Regions from separate parts of the Homo sapiens genome. Here region 2 is linked to region 1. The links are contacts of gene promoters, found by promoter capture Hi-C in human tissues and cell types (Jung and others, 2019). All regions are on one chromosome and are shown on one strand. Each heading gives the region's core, a stretch centred on a gene start or on the middle of the fragment in contact. The rest is flanking DNA. Distances are from core to core; before and after follow the strand shown. Region 1 has its middle 6.7 kb from the start of PEX39. Region 2 holds the start of PPP2R5D (protein phosphatase 2 regulatory subunit B'delta).

Region 1 (6,904 bases), core at 4,037-6,536:
GGCCTATCAAAATGCAAATCCAGAATGTCAATCGGCCATAAAGCCATTAAAAAGAAAAGTTCCAGCAGGAGTTGATGTAATTACAGAATAAGTGAAGGCTTATGATGGGATTGGAGGAGCTATGTATAAAGGCAATGCTAATGGCTGAAGCAATAGCGGGAGTCGCTTTAGGAGGACAAGTTAGAACATTTGGGAAAAAATGTTATAATTGTGGTCAAATCGGTCATCCGAAAAGGAGTTGCCCAGTCTTAAGTAAACAGAATATAATAAATCAAGCTGGCCGGGCACGGTGGCTCACACCCGTAATCCCAGCACTTTGGGAGGCCGAGGCTGGTAGATCACAAGGTCAGGAGGTCGAGACTATCCTGGCTAACATGGTGAAACCCCATCTCTACTAAAAATACAAAAAATTAGCCAGGCGTGGTGGCGGGTGCCTATAGTCCCAGCTACTCGGGAGGCTGAGGCAGGAGAATGGCATGAACCCAGGAGGCAGAGCTTGCAGTGAGCCGAGATCGCACCACTGCACTCCAGCCTGGGCAACAGAGCCAGACTCCGTCTCAAAAAAAAGAAAAATATAAATATAAATAAATCAAGCTATAACGGCAAAAAATAAAGAGCCACCTGGCCTGTGTCCAAAATGTGGAAAAGGAAAACATTGGGCTAATCAATGTCATTCTAAATTTGATAAAGATGGGCAACCATTGTTGGGGAAATGGGAAGAGGGGCCAGCCTCAGGCCCCGCAACAAATTGGGGCATTCCGATTCAGCCGTTTGTTCCTCAGGGTTTTCAGGGACAAAAACTCCCGCAGGAAATACCACCACTTCAGGGAGTCAGCCAATTACAACAATACAACAGCTGTCCCCTGCCACAGCAGGCAGCGCAGCAGTAGATTTGTGTTCTACTCAAATGGTTTCTTTACTCCCTGGAGAGCCCCCGCAAAAGATTCCTACAGGGGTATATGGCCCGCTGCCAGAAGGGACGGTAGGCCTTATTTTAGGGAGATCAAGTCTAAATTTGAAGGGAGTCCAAATTCATACTGGTGTAATTGATTCAGATTATAAAGGGGAAATTCAGTTAGTGATCAGCTCCACTGTTCCCTGGAGTGCCAATCCAGGTGATAGAATTGCACAATTACTGCTTTTGCCTTGTATTAAAATTGGGAAAAACAAAACGGAAAGAACAGGAGGGTTTGGAAGTACCAACCCTGCCGGAAAAGCCGCTTATTGGGCTAGTCAGGTCTCAGAGGATAGACCCGTGTGTGCAGTCACTATTCAGGGAAAGCAGTTTGAAGGATTAGTGGATACTGGGTGATGGTGCTATCATTGCCTTAAATCAATGGCCCCAAAATTGGCCTAAACAAAAGCCTGTTACAGGACTTGTCGGCGTAGGCACTGCCTCAGAAGTGTATCAAAGTGCCATGAGTTTACATTGTCTAGGACCTGATGATCAAGAAAGTACAGTTCAGCCTATGATCACTTCTATTCCAATTAATTTATGGGGCCGAGACTTGTTACAACAATGGCATGCAGCGATTACTATCCCAGCCCCCAATACAGCCCCACGAGTCAAAAAATCATAACTAAAATGGGATATCTCCCTGAAAAGGGACTAGGAAAGAATGAAGACAGCATTAAAGTCCCAATTGAGGCTGAAAAAACTCAAAAAAGAAAAGGAATAGGGTATCCTTTTTAAGAGCGGCCACTGTAGAGCCTCCAAAACCCATTCCATTAACTTGGAAAACAAAAAAACCTGTATGGGTGAATCAGTGGCTGCTACCAAAACAAAAGCTGGAGGCTTTACACTTATTAGCAAAGGAACAATTAGAAAAGGGACATATTGAGCCTTCATTTTCGCCTTGGAATTCTCCTGTGTTTGTAATTCAGAAAAAATCCGGCAGATGGCGCGTGCTGACCGACTTAAGAGCCGTTAATGCTGTAATTCAACCCATGGGGGCTCTCCAACCTGGGTTGCTCTCTCCGGTCATGATCCCCAAAGATCGGCCTTTAGTTATAATTGATCTGAAGGATTGCTTTTTTACCGTTCCTCTGGCAAAACAGGATTTTGAAAAATTTGCTTTTACTATACCAGCCATAAATAATAAAGAACCAGCCACCAGGTTTCAGTGGAAAGTGTTGCCTCAGGGAATGCTTAATGGTCCAACTATTTGCCAGACTTTTGTAGCTCAAGCTCTTCAACCAATTAGAGACAGTTTTCAGACTCTTATATCATTCATTATGTTGATGATATTTTGTGTGCTACAGAAAGGAGAGACAAATTAATTGACTGTTACACATTTCTGCAGACAGAGGTTGCAAACGCAGGACTGACGACAGCATCTGATAAGATTCAAACCTCTACTCCTTTCCATTACTTGGAAATGCAGGTGGAGGAAACGAAAATTAAACCATAAAAAATAGAAATAAGAAAAGACACATTAAAAACATTAAATGACTTTCAAAAATTGCTAGGAGATATTAATTGGATTCAGCCAACTCTAGGCATCTCTACTTATGCCATGTCAAATTTGTTCTCTATCTTAAGAGGGGATCCAGAATTGAATAGTAAAAGAACATTAACTCCAGAAGCAACTAAAGAAATTGAATTAGTTGAAGAAAAAATTCGGTCAGCACAAGTAAATAGAATAGATCACTTAGCCCCACTCCAACTTTTGATTTTTGCTACTGCACATTCTCCAACAGGCATTATTGCTCAAAATACAGATCTTGTGGAGTGGTTCTTCCTTCCTCATAGTACAATTAAGACTTTTACATTGTACTTGGATCAAATGGCTACATTAATTGGTCAGGCAAGATTACGAATAATAAAATTGTGTGAAAGTGACTCAGATAAAATCATTGTTCCTTTAAACAAGGAACAGGTTAGACAAGCCTTTATCAATTCTGGTGCATGGCAGATTGGTCTTGCTGATTTTGTGGGAATTATTGACAATCATTACCCAAAAACAAAAATCTTCCAGTTTTTAAAATTGACTACTTGGATTTTACCTAAAATTACTAGACATAAACCTTTAGAAAATGCTCTGACAGTGTTTACTGATGGTTCCAGCAATGGAAAAGCGGCTTACACCAGGCCAAAAGAACGACTCATTGAAACTCAATATCACTGGGCTCAAAGAGCAGAGTTGGTTGCTGTCATTACAGTGTTACAAGATTTTAATCAGCCTATTAACATTGTATCAGATTCTGCATATGTAGTACAGGCTACAAAGGATGTTGAGACAGCCCTAATCAAATATAGTATAGATGATCAGTTAAACCAGCTGTTTAATATGTTACAACAAACTGTAAGAAAAAGAAATTTCCCATTTTATGTTACTCATATTCGAGCACATACTAATTTACCAGAGCCTTTAACTAAAGCAAATGAACAAGTTGACTTGCTAGTATCATCTGCATTCCTGGAAGCACAAGAACTTCATGCCTTGACTCATGTAAATGCAACAGGACTAAAAAATAAATTTGACATCACATGGAAACAGGCAAAAAATATTGTACAACATTACACCCAGTGTCAGATTCCACACCTGCCCACTCAGGAGGCAGGAGTTAATCCCAGAGGTCTGTGTCCTAATGCGTTATGGCAAATGGATGTCACACATGTACCTTCAGTTGGAAAATTGTCATTTCTCCATGTGACAGTTGATGCTTATTCACATTTTGTAAGGGCAAACTGCCAGACAGGAGAAAATACTTCCCATGTTAAAAGACATTTATTATCTTGTTTTGCTGTCATGGGAGTTCCAGAAAAAATTAAAACGGATAATGGGCCAGGATACTGTAGTAAAACATTTCAAAAATTCTTAAATCAGTGGAAAATTACACATACAACAGGAATCCCTTATAATTCCCAAGGACAGGCCATAATTGAAAAAACTGATAGAACACTCAAAGCTCAATTGGTTAAACAAAAAAAGGAAAAAAGACAGTAAGGAGTATAACACTCCCCAGATGCAACTTAATCTAGCACTCTATACTTTAAATTTTTTAAACATTTATAGAAATCAAACCACTACTTCTGCAGAACAACATTTTACTGGTAAAAAGAATAGCCCACATGAAGGAAAACTGATTTGGTGGAAAGACAAGAAAAATAAGACATGGGAAATAGGGAAGGTGATAACATGGGAGAGAGGCTTTGCTTGTGTTTCACAAGGAGAAAATCAGCTTCCTGGTTGGATACCCACTAGAAATTTAAAGTTCTACAATGAACCCCTTGGAGATGCGAAGAAAAGCGCCTCTGCGGAGACAAAAAACCCTCAATTGAGCATCATCGACTCGCCAGGTAAATAAAATGGTGATATCAGAAGAACAGATGAAGTTGCCATCCACCAAGGAAGCGGAGCCACCGACTTGGGCCCAATTAAAGAAGCTGACACAGTTAGCTAAAAAAAGCCTAAAGAACACAAGGGTAATGTGAACTCCAGAGAATATACTGCTTACAGCTTTGATTATTATATCAACGGTAGTAAGTCTCCCCATGTCTGCAGGAGCAGCTGCAACTAATTATACTTACTGTGCCTATGTGCCTTTCCCACCCTTAATTTGGGCAGTCACATGGATGGATAATCCTGTTGAAGTATATGTTAATAATAGGGCATGGGTACCAGGCCCCACAGACGATTGTTGCCCTGCCCAACCTAAAGAAGAAGGAATGATGATAAATGTTTCCACTGGGTATCATTATCCTCCTATTTGCCTAGGGAAGGCACCAGGATGTTTAATGCCTACAACCCAAAACTGGTTGGTAGAAGTACCTACCGTCAGTGCCACCAGTAAATTTACTTATCACATGGTAAGTGGAATGTCACTCGGGCCACAGATAAATAATTTAGAGGACGCTTCTTATCAAAGATCATTAAAATCTGGGCCTAAGGGGAAGCCTTGCCCCAAGGAAATTCCCAAAGAATCAAAAAGCCCAGAAGCCTTAGTTTGGGAAGAATGTGTGGCTAATACTGCGGTGGTATTACAAAACAATGAATTTGGAACTACTATAATATTATATAATAGTTATATATTATATTATATTATATACAATTATATTATATATAATTGTATGGGCCAGACTCACTCATGTTTACAGGCCCCATCCATCTGGCCCATTAATCCGGCCTATGATAGTGATTTAATTGAAAGGCTGGACCAGGTTTATAGAAGGCTAGAATCACCCTATCCCTGGAAATGGGGTGAAAAGGGAATTTCATCACCTCGACCAAAGTTAGTTAGTCCTGTTACTGGTCCTAAACATCCAAAATTATGGAAGCTTACTGTGGCCTCGCACTACATTAGAATTTGGTCTGGAAATCAAGCTACAGAAACAAGAAATCGTAAGCCATATTATACTATCAACCTAAATTCCAATCTGACAATTCCTTTACAAAGTTGTGTAAAACCCCCTTATATGCTAGTTATAGAAAACATAGTTATTAAACCAGATTCCCAAACTATAACCTGTGAAAACTGTAGATTGTTTACTTGCATTGATTTGACTTTTAATTGGCAGCGCCATATTCTGCTAGTGAGGGCAAGAGAAGGTGTGCGGATCCCTGTGTCCATGGACCGACAGTGGGAGGCTTCGCCATCTTCCATATTTTAACGGAAGTATTAAAAGGAATTCTAACTAGATCCAAAAGATTTTTACTTTGATTGCAGTGATTATGGGCCTTATTGCAGTCACAGCTACTGCTGCAGCTGCTGGAATTGCTTTACACTCCTCTGTTCAAACTGCAGAATATGTAAATGATTGGCGAAAGAATTCCTCAAAATTGTGGAATTCTCAGACCCAAATAAATCAAAAATTGGCAAACGAAATTAATGATCTTAGACAAACTGTCATTTGGCTGGGAAATAGGCTCATGAGCTTGGAATATCTTTTTCAGTTACAGTGTGACTGGAATATGTCAGATTTTTGTATTACACCCCAAGCCTATAATGAGTCTGAGCATCACTGGGACATGGTTAGATGCCATCTACAGGGAAGAGAAGATAATCTTACTTTAGATATTTCAAAATTAAAATAACAAAATTTTGAGGCATCGAAAGCCCATTTAAATTTGGGAACTGAGGCAATCGTGAAAGCTACTGATGGCCTCACAAATCTTAACACTGTCACTTGGTTAAAAACCATCAGAAGTTCCACTATTGTAAATTTCATATTAATCCTTGTATGCCTGTTCTGTCTGTTGTTAGTCCACAGGTGTATCCACCAGCTCCGAAGAGACAGCGACCAGCAAGAACGGGCCATAACGACGATGGCAGTTTTGTCAAAAAGGGGGATATGTAGGGAAAAGAGAGATCCGACTGTTACTGTGTCTACATAGAAAAGGAAGACATAAGAAACTCCATTTTGATCTGTACCCTGAACAATTGTTTTGCCTTGAGATGCTGTTAATATGTAACTTTAGCCCCAACCTTGTGCTCACGGAAATATGTGTTGTATGGAATCAAGGTTTAAGGGATCTAGGGCTGTGCAGGATGTGCCTTGTTAACAAAATGTTTACAGGCAGTATGCTTGGTAAAAGTCATCGCCATTCTCCATTCTCGATTAACCAGGGGCACAATGCACTGCAGAAAGCCACAGGGACCTCTGCCCAGGAAAGCCAGGTATTGTCCAAGGTTTCTCCCCACTGAGACAGCCTGAGGTATGGCCTCGTGGGACGGGAAAGACCTGACCATCCCCCAGCCCGACACCCGTGAAGGGTCTGTGCTGAGGAGGATTAGTAAAAGAGGAAGGCCTCTTGCGGTTGAGATAAGAGGAAGGCCTCTGTCTCCTGCATGCCCCTGAGAACGGAATGTCTCAGTATAATACCCGATTGTACATTCGTTCTATTCTGAGATAGGAGAAAACCGCCCTGTGGCTGGAGGCGAGATATGCTGGTGGCAATAC
Region 2 (7,178 bases), core at 4,570-7,069, 89 kb before region 1:
GAGAAAGCAGAGAAAGCACCAAACACCAGTTTCCAGGTAGGATGTGGTGGATGCTCGCTGTGTATGTTCACAGGATCTTTCACCATCCAGAGCATCCCACTGTGCACACTCCCAAACTTTCATGGACATACTGTGTACTTCCTTAAGTCTCTCCCTCTTCTGGTGTTCTCTCGGCTTGCTGTTTATTGCTTTATAACCCGAGATTGCTAAGCTGCGCTGAACTCTGCTCAGGACTGTCTTTTAGTCATGCTGCCATTCAATCAGGACCAAGGGCAGTGGGCCCAGCTGGGCCCAACTCAGGGACACCAGCCCCTCCCAATCCCCTGCCCCACCCGAGCCATGCTGAAGTCACTTGTTACCCCATCAAGTGTCTGTGGACTTTTCCCCTTTTGCCCAGGATCCCAGAACCTCCCGCTTTTTGCCCTAAGAAAAAGGAATTCTCAACATTCCAAGTTGGTAAGCAGAGAAACAACTTTCATAGGAATCTCTGGGGAGTCTGAAGAACTAGAGAATGTATTTGGTCTATACCAACCAAAGGTAAATCCTGCCTGAGGGCAGTCTGGATGGGCTGTCCAGGTCCCTCCCAGGATATGGAAGCCTTCCCTTCTGCCTCACCCCCTGGGATCCCCTACCCAACTAGCCATCATGGAGTTGCGGGTGGCACCTGCACCACATCTAAGGCTACGCCTACATTCATTACCTCCTCAGTGTTCTCGCCTCCACCATCCTTGCCCGAGCTGCTAGGCTTGGCTGTGCATTTGGCAACCTTGGGGGGCTCCTGAAAGGAAAAGATGAAAGTAAAGTTAGCAGATGCCAGGAGAAGGGAGAGGTCTTATCTGGCTCCCTTAGATCTTTGTTGCAAATATCCTCTGTCCAGTTGAATCAATCAATTAGAATCTACCTTGTGCGGAGCTGGGGTGGGTGGAGGGATCTACGCAGAAGGAGATTCAGCCCCTCCAAAGAGTTTAGAATCTGGTTAGGAAGTCACCCCAAACACACACTAATTCAGCGTGAGAATGCTCCATCTTTCACCTCATCAGGCTGGTGCAGAGGTTGGGCCTGGGAGGGCCTTTGCTCAGGTCAGAACCAGGGTGAGGAGGCTTAAAGAAAAAGCATCAGGGAACAGCTGCTCACTGGTTTCTGGCTAAAGTGGTCAAAGGTGTGCCGGAGGCTTTCATGCTGGAGTGCAGGGAGTCACCACTCTCCCCTCACAGCCACCTGGAAAGACTGGGAGGCAATTTTTGGATGTCACAAATAGCGCACAGACAAGAGGGTGCTACTCAGCATTTAATCAGTAAGGCCCAGGAATGCTAACAGGTACAGAACTGTCCCACTCAAAATGCCAAGAGCACCTCAGTTGACAAGCACTAAGACAGGGATGGGGGTAAAACCCTGAACTGTTACAAAGAGTGAGCACTAGTCTGAAGTCTCCTTTGGGAACCTGGCAGCTGGCTCAGAGCCCTGGCCTGCCCAGCATCTCTTCCTATGCTTCGAGCCAAAAAAAGCAACTGCACAGGGACAGGATAGGGAAAATGTGAAAAAGACTTGGGGATTTAGGTCTGACTGCAAGCTCAACACAAATCATCCATGTGCAGCTCATGTGACCTTCCATCTTGTTAAAAGACCTGTGCAGACTGCTTGGCACTGACAGGGCTATCCTGGAGGATCTGGTTCAGTCATGAGCATCAGGCTTGGGAGGGGCCATGACAAATCCTAGTGTTTCTTAGAGGGAAATGCAACCCATACTGGGAGTGGATTCAAAGGCATGTCCCAAGACCAACAGCTGCAGGAACTGGGATAGTTAACAATGGAAGGGAGGAGTCATGAGGGATGGAGAAGCAAGATGGATCTTAAACAAATGAAGATGCAACTTGGATGCCTTGGATGCAACTTGTCCATATGGACCAGAGGCACGAGAGCAATGGGCTGAAGTTGCAAGCCACCTGAAGCTCCAAACAAGGAAGAATTTTATCATGGAGCAATTGCACTAAAACTGGCCACCTAGTGAAGCCGAAAGCTCCCCAACCCCTGAGAACATTCAAGCAGGGGCTTGGTGACCTCCTGTAAGGCATGTTGCAAAAGAAATTCAAGCCTTTAATGAGGACTGGAGGATCTTGGAAATCACTTCCAGCTCTGAGATTGTGCAATTCAATAGCAGCCAAGCCCCTTCAGTGAGAAGTGTTAAATCGAGTTATTGTGACTATGGGGGCAAAAGGATTTCAGGGAGAAGAGAGCTCTGTGTGGGCTGGAGTAGGGGGAAGGCTTCTTGGAGGTGGGGAGGAAGAAAGGTGTGGTGTAGAGCAGCTCCATGCAGTAGGGGGAAGGAGTTCCTTCTTTGGCCTGAGCACGCTCCTGCTGTATACTAACCCAGCTGGCCACACTGACCCTTATCAGTGGCTGAGAGCATGGGGTGGAGAGAAATAGGCCGGGGGCAGGGTGCAGGCAGGACACAACATTGAGGTGTCTGCACACACCCCAGACATGAACCCCTTGAACAAAGCTGACCCATCTTCATACATCTCCAATCTATTAGACCATAAGCTGCTTATTCTTTTTTGTACCCCTCCACCCACCCTACAGCACTCAGCATGATGCCTCAGACGTATCTTTCAAAGAATGAGCCTAAGAGAGATCCAGCTGCCTTAGTGTGTGGGTGTGAGTGGGCATGGAGGAACCAGGCCTACCACCCTTGCTCCCTGGCTCCTGCAGAACAGGTGAAGCACACACATTTCAGCCCAGCTCAGTAGTCAAATGCTGTGTAGCACAGAGGTTAAAAGAACATGTTTGGACTCAGCCCTGTGTTTTGGGCCCAACTCTTACTGGCTGTGTAATCACAGGCAAGTTAACTAGCCTCTCTGAGCCTCAGTTTCCTCATCTATTAGATGATGACAATCATAATACCCTCTTCCCTCAGCACAGTGTTAAGGCACATGAAAACCGTAGTGCTGGTCAATGTTATTACTATTATTATGAACAAGAAAAAAATCGGAGGGGGCAGGGGCACCCTACTCAGGAAAATAAAAGAGGTAAGTCCCAGAGGAGAACATGAAGGAAGAGGAGAGATGCGAATCCCTCCAAGAGATTATCTTAGCACCTATCCACTAAGCACGTACTTACCGTGTGAAAAGGAGTTGTCAAACCAAAATGAAACTTAGTTATTATCTCAAAGGGGAAGAAAAGTCTTGTCCACAATTAATTCCCATCCAAGGCCAAACACAAAAGGACCATAAGTGGCCTACTAAGTGTTCTGCAAATCCAGAAAAGAAAGGAGAGTTCACTCCTGACTGAGGGCTCAGAAAGGCTTTAGAGAGGAAGCTGTGAAAGATGGCCAGGAGAGAGGGGACAGGTCATAGATGAGCAATAAAGATCCTCCACCCACAGCCATCCAGACAAACCTCAGTCACACTGGCAACCCCCCTGCCCCTTAGAGCCTGCCAACCATTGAAGAAGGCCAAATGCAACTGAAAATCAAGAGCAGAAAAACCTTATAGGGAGGTGAGAGTTATGCCTGGCTCCATGCACCCCGTTACTTCCAACACCCTTTCCCAACCAAACGTTTACACCCATGGTCCTAGCAAATCTCACTGGCAATTTGTCTTCTTCACAATCTAGTAGGCTATTGCTTTCTGTGGATGGGACAGTATCTAGTCCAACAGACTAAAAATTACAAATGGGTGGGGACCTCACCAGCTTTCCCCGAATTCCATTTCCCTTAGCCCCTGTTGTGGCTGATTTCTGTGTGCATTGTCTACGACTGAGCTACCCAAACCACCTCCGCATGCCCACTCCCCAAGGACAGGGCCTGGGTGGGGCACAAAACCCTGTCCAGCTCACTACTCCCAGGAGGCTCACTATCTAGTACACCATCACCAACCCTGTACTTAGAACCTCAGGCCCTGAAAGGTTAAGGGGACAACTCAGAATCAGAGCTGCCTGGCAAATACAGAACAGCCCCAGGAGAAAAAGTTTGATTGAAAAGGTCAGAGATGGCAGCCCAGTAACCCAGCCAATCAGAGGGCAAATGAAAGCAATATACCTCTGGGGTCATCGAGCAGGTGGCCAGAACACCAGGCCAGAGCCAACCCCCACCAAAAAGGGCCAGCCCCAGGAGAGGAGAAGCTGGGGGAGGCTGGAACTGGTATCCTAGCATCCTATGTGTGAGTCTGTACCTCAAAGGAACCACACCTCTGAGTCAGACCTCAGCAACAGCAGGAAACAGAGGGTAGAAAAAGGCACGGATGAGGAGCAGGGGAAGGCAGCACCGAGGTAGATGAGGAAGGTGAAAGAAGGCAACATTAAGAACTGGCCTGTGGGCCAGGCACGGTGGCTCACACCTGTAATCCCAGCACTTTGGGAGGCCGAGGGGGTCAGATCACCTGAGGTCAGGAGTTCAAGACCAGCCTGATCAACATGGAGAAACCCCGTCTCTACTAAAAATACAAAATTAGCCGGATGTGGTGGCGCATGCCTGTAATTCCAGCTACTTGGGAGGCTGAGGCAGGAGAATCGCTTGAAGCTAGAAGGCAGAGGTTGTGGTGAGCCGAGATCGCGCCATTGCACTCCAGCCTGGGCAACAAGAGCAAAATTCCATCTCAAAAAAAAAAAAAAAAAAAGAAATGGCCTGTGTCAGGACATCATGATAAAGACATGGGTGTTCAGGGGTGGCTGGCCTGCAGGCTAAGAAGGAACAATAATCTGACAGTGAGGACAAATTCCCAATTTGAAGATGGTGTAGCTTAGGAAAGGCAGAAATCCAGCACTGGTGCGAAAAGAAAAAAAAAAAGGAAAAATGCAAAGGTTATCCTAGGATTAAGAATAAGGGTGAGGAGCCTACTCAGATTAGGAAAGGTGACTGGTCTAGGATGCACTTGGGTGACAGTTAGGAGGGCTTTGATACAAAAGAGGCCTTTAAGTCAGGAGACCTGATATTGCAGCTGGGCCTCCAGCAGGCTGTGTGACCTTGGACAAGTCCCTTGCCCTGTCGGGGCCTCAGTCTCCTCATCTGTACCATTAGGGATTGCACTGCATGCGCTCAGAGGTCCCTTCCAGCACCAACGTTGTGAGGTTCCATCAACAGAAGGGCTCAGTCCTGCTTACAAGTTTGTGTGTGAAGGAAGAACTAGAGGGAGGGGCCTAGGCCAGATTTGGGTGGAGGAGAGAGAAAGCAGCGCTGTTCTAGGTCAGGGGCTTGGCATGGAAAGAGAAGGGGCCGTAGGGGACTGCGGGGCGGCTGTCCCAGGCGGGTAGGAAGAGGAGACAAGGGGCTGCTCAGGGCGGGGCGAGGGGGCAATTCTGGAGGAAGGTGCAGTTTCAGATGAGGGGCTGCCCAAACCGAAGGGGGATCGGGGCCAGGGGTGATGGGGGGGACAGAAAAAGCAGGACAGTGACCTGGGAATGGGGCAGATCTGGAAGAAGGAGGTTACCCTGGGCCGGGGGTAAGAGAAGGGAAGAAGGGAGGGAGGTGTATGTGGGGGGAGTCTCTCCGGGGCAAGGTGGGGGAGCTGTCCTAGCTGCGGCACAAGCTGGGGGTGCTGCCAGCCGCGGGGGCGGAGGGCTGGCCCCAGGAGTCCTGCGGGGGCTGGACGGGAGGGTCAGTCTGGGGCTGTCCCGGGCCTGGCTCCGGCCCCTCCCAGAGCTCCGCGCAGGCTCCAAGGCGGCGGTGGGGGAAAAAGGGCCACGCTCACCTTCTCCTTTTTCAGTTTATAGGGCATCTCGGCCCGTCCGGACCCGGCCCGTCTCCTGCGGCCCCGCTCCGGCTCCGGCTTTGCTCGGCCGCACTCGGCCCGCTCGGCGTCTCTTCGCCACCGCCTGCGCGCTGCGCCCGGGTCGAGCGGTGCCTGCGCCTCCAATTGGCCCGAACTCCTACAAAACTGCCTGACAACCAGGCGCCGCCTCCTCGGATTGGTCATTGGAGCCAAGCTGCTTCCTTTTTTTCTTATTGGAAAGAAATAGTACAAACCGCCAGGGTTCGGCTTCCAGAATTGGCTGAAGTGGGTGGTCCCGCCCTAAAGTGGGTCGAGCTTAGAGAAGGAGGCGGGGATAAGGGGAAACCCAAGCTTGGCTAGGAGGGCTGCACTCCAGCGTCTGCTGTGCGTCGGCCTCGGCCATTCTTCGCGGCGCTTGGAGCCCTGCTCTTTCCTTCTAAAGGCTCTCACACTTTGCCCGCTCTGCTACCCTGTCCAGTCGGAATTGGAGGAAGGAAGCCCTAATACGGAGGGCACCTTTCTTCACTGGGGTAAAGTAGCCCTAATTGCAGATGCAAAATTGATGGAGGGAGCTCCCAAGGACCTTCCAAGACACCCGCCTCCCTAGACAGGGGTTGCAGAGGAGCAAAGGGGAAGCCTGGCAGGGCTAGGACCTGGGCGAAATGAGTGGAGAATCCCTGGCTTGGTGCAACTTTAGGAAGAGGGTCCCCGTTGCTACTGCAAGTGTACTGGGATTGGGGAACCAGCTAGATTTGAGCAGTTGGGAACGCAGTGGAAAAGCAACTTCATTGTTGACTGTCTCAGGAAATCCATCCCTTACTTGCCACCCTGCTCAAGTCCGTGTTCTAATGGGTAAGACTCAGTTTATGCCCACAAAGAGTTCGCAGTCTGGTGAATCACAGATGTGTATAAACAAAGGATTAAGAGAGAATGTAAACCAGGCAGGCACGGTGTCTCACGCCTGTAATCCCAACACTTTGGGAGGCTGAGGCAGGAGGATCACCTGAGGTCAGAGGTTCGAGACCAGCCTGGCCAACATGGCGAAACCCCGTCTCTATTAAAAATACAAAAATTAGCTGGGTGTGGTGGTGCACGCCTGTAATCCCAGCTACTCGGGAGGCTGAGGCAGGAGAATCACTTGAACCCGGGAGACGGAGGTTGCAGTGAGCCGAGATCACACCACTGCACTCCAGCCTGGGCGACAGAGCAAGACTCTGTCTCAAAACAGCAACAATGACGACAAAAAGAATAAACCTGTGGCCAGGCTCGGTGGCTCACGCCTGTAGTCCCAACACTTTGGGAGACCAAAGTGGGCAGATCACGAGGTCAGGAGTTTGAGACCAGCCTGACCATAGTGGTGAAACCCCATTTCTACTAAAAATACAAAAATTAGACAGGGTGCGGTGGCTCACGCCTGTAATCCCAGCACTTTGGGAGGCCGAGGTGGGCGGATCACGAGTCAAGAGATCGAGG

What was found. Contacts are between HindIII fragments. The study calls those that stand out against the background at their distance.
Region 2: a contact is called between the fragment with the promoter of PPP2R5D here and a fragment that was not itself captured in region 1, in 3 of the 25 tissues and cell types used here (H1 embryonic stem cells, aorta and heart right ventricle).

The regions. Positions count from the first base shown.
Region 1 is chr6:42,894,059-42,900,962 of GRCh38, reverse strand. No RefSeq gene overlaps it. Among named protein-coding and RNA genes, the nearest start is that of PEX39, 6.7 kb to the right of the region's middle. The HindIII fragment of the contact is 6,847 bases long and covers 1,863-6,904 here.
Region 2 is chr6:42,983,211-42,990,388 of GRCh38, reverse strand. PPP2R5D (protein phosphatase 2 regulatory subunit B'delta) reads right to left here and starts at 5,819. Exons shown (of 16, transcript NM_006245.4): 1 at 5,685-5,819; 2 at 701-778. The coding sequence starts at 5,711. It overlaps LOC124900215 (a long non-coding RNA gene), which reads left to right and starts at 6,075. Exons shown (of 2, transcript XR_007059580.1): 1 at 6,075-6,557. RefSeq lists silencers at 1,524-1,818, 5,461-5,610, 5,701-5,770 and an enhancer at 5,921-6,040. The HindIII fragment of the contact is 19,136 bases long and covers 1-7,178 here.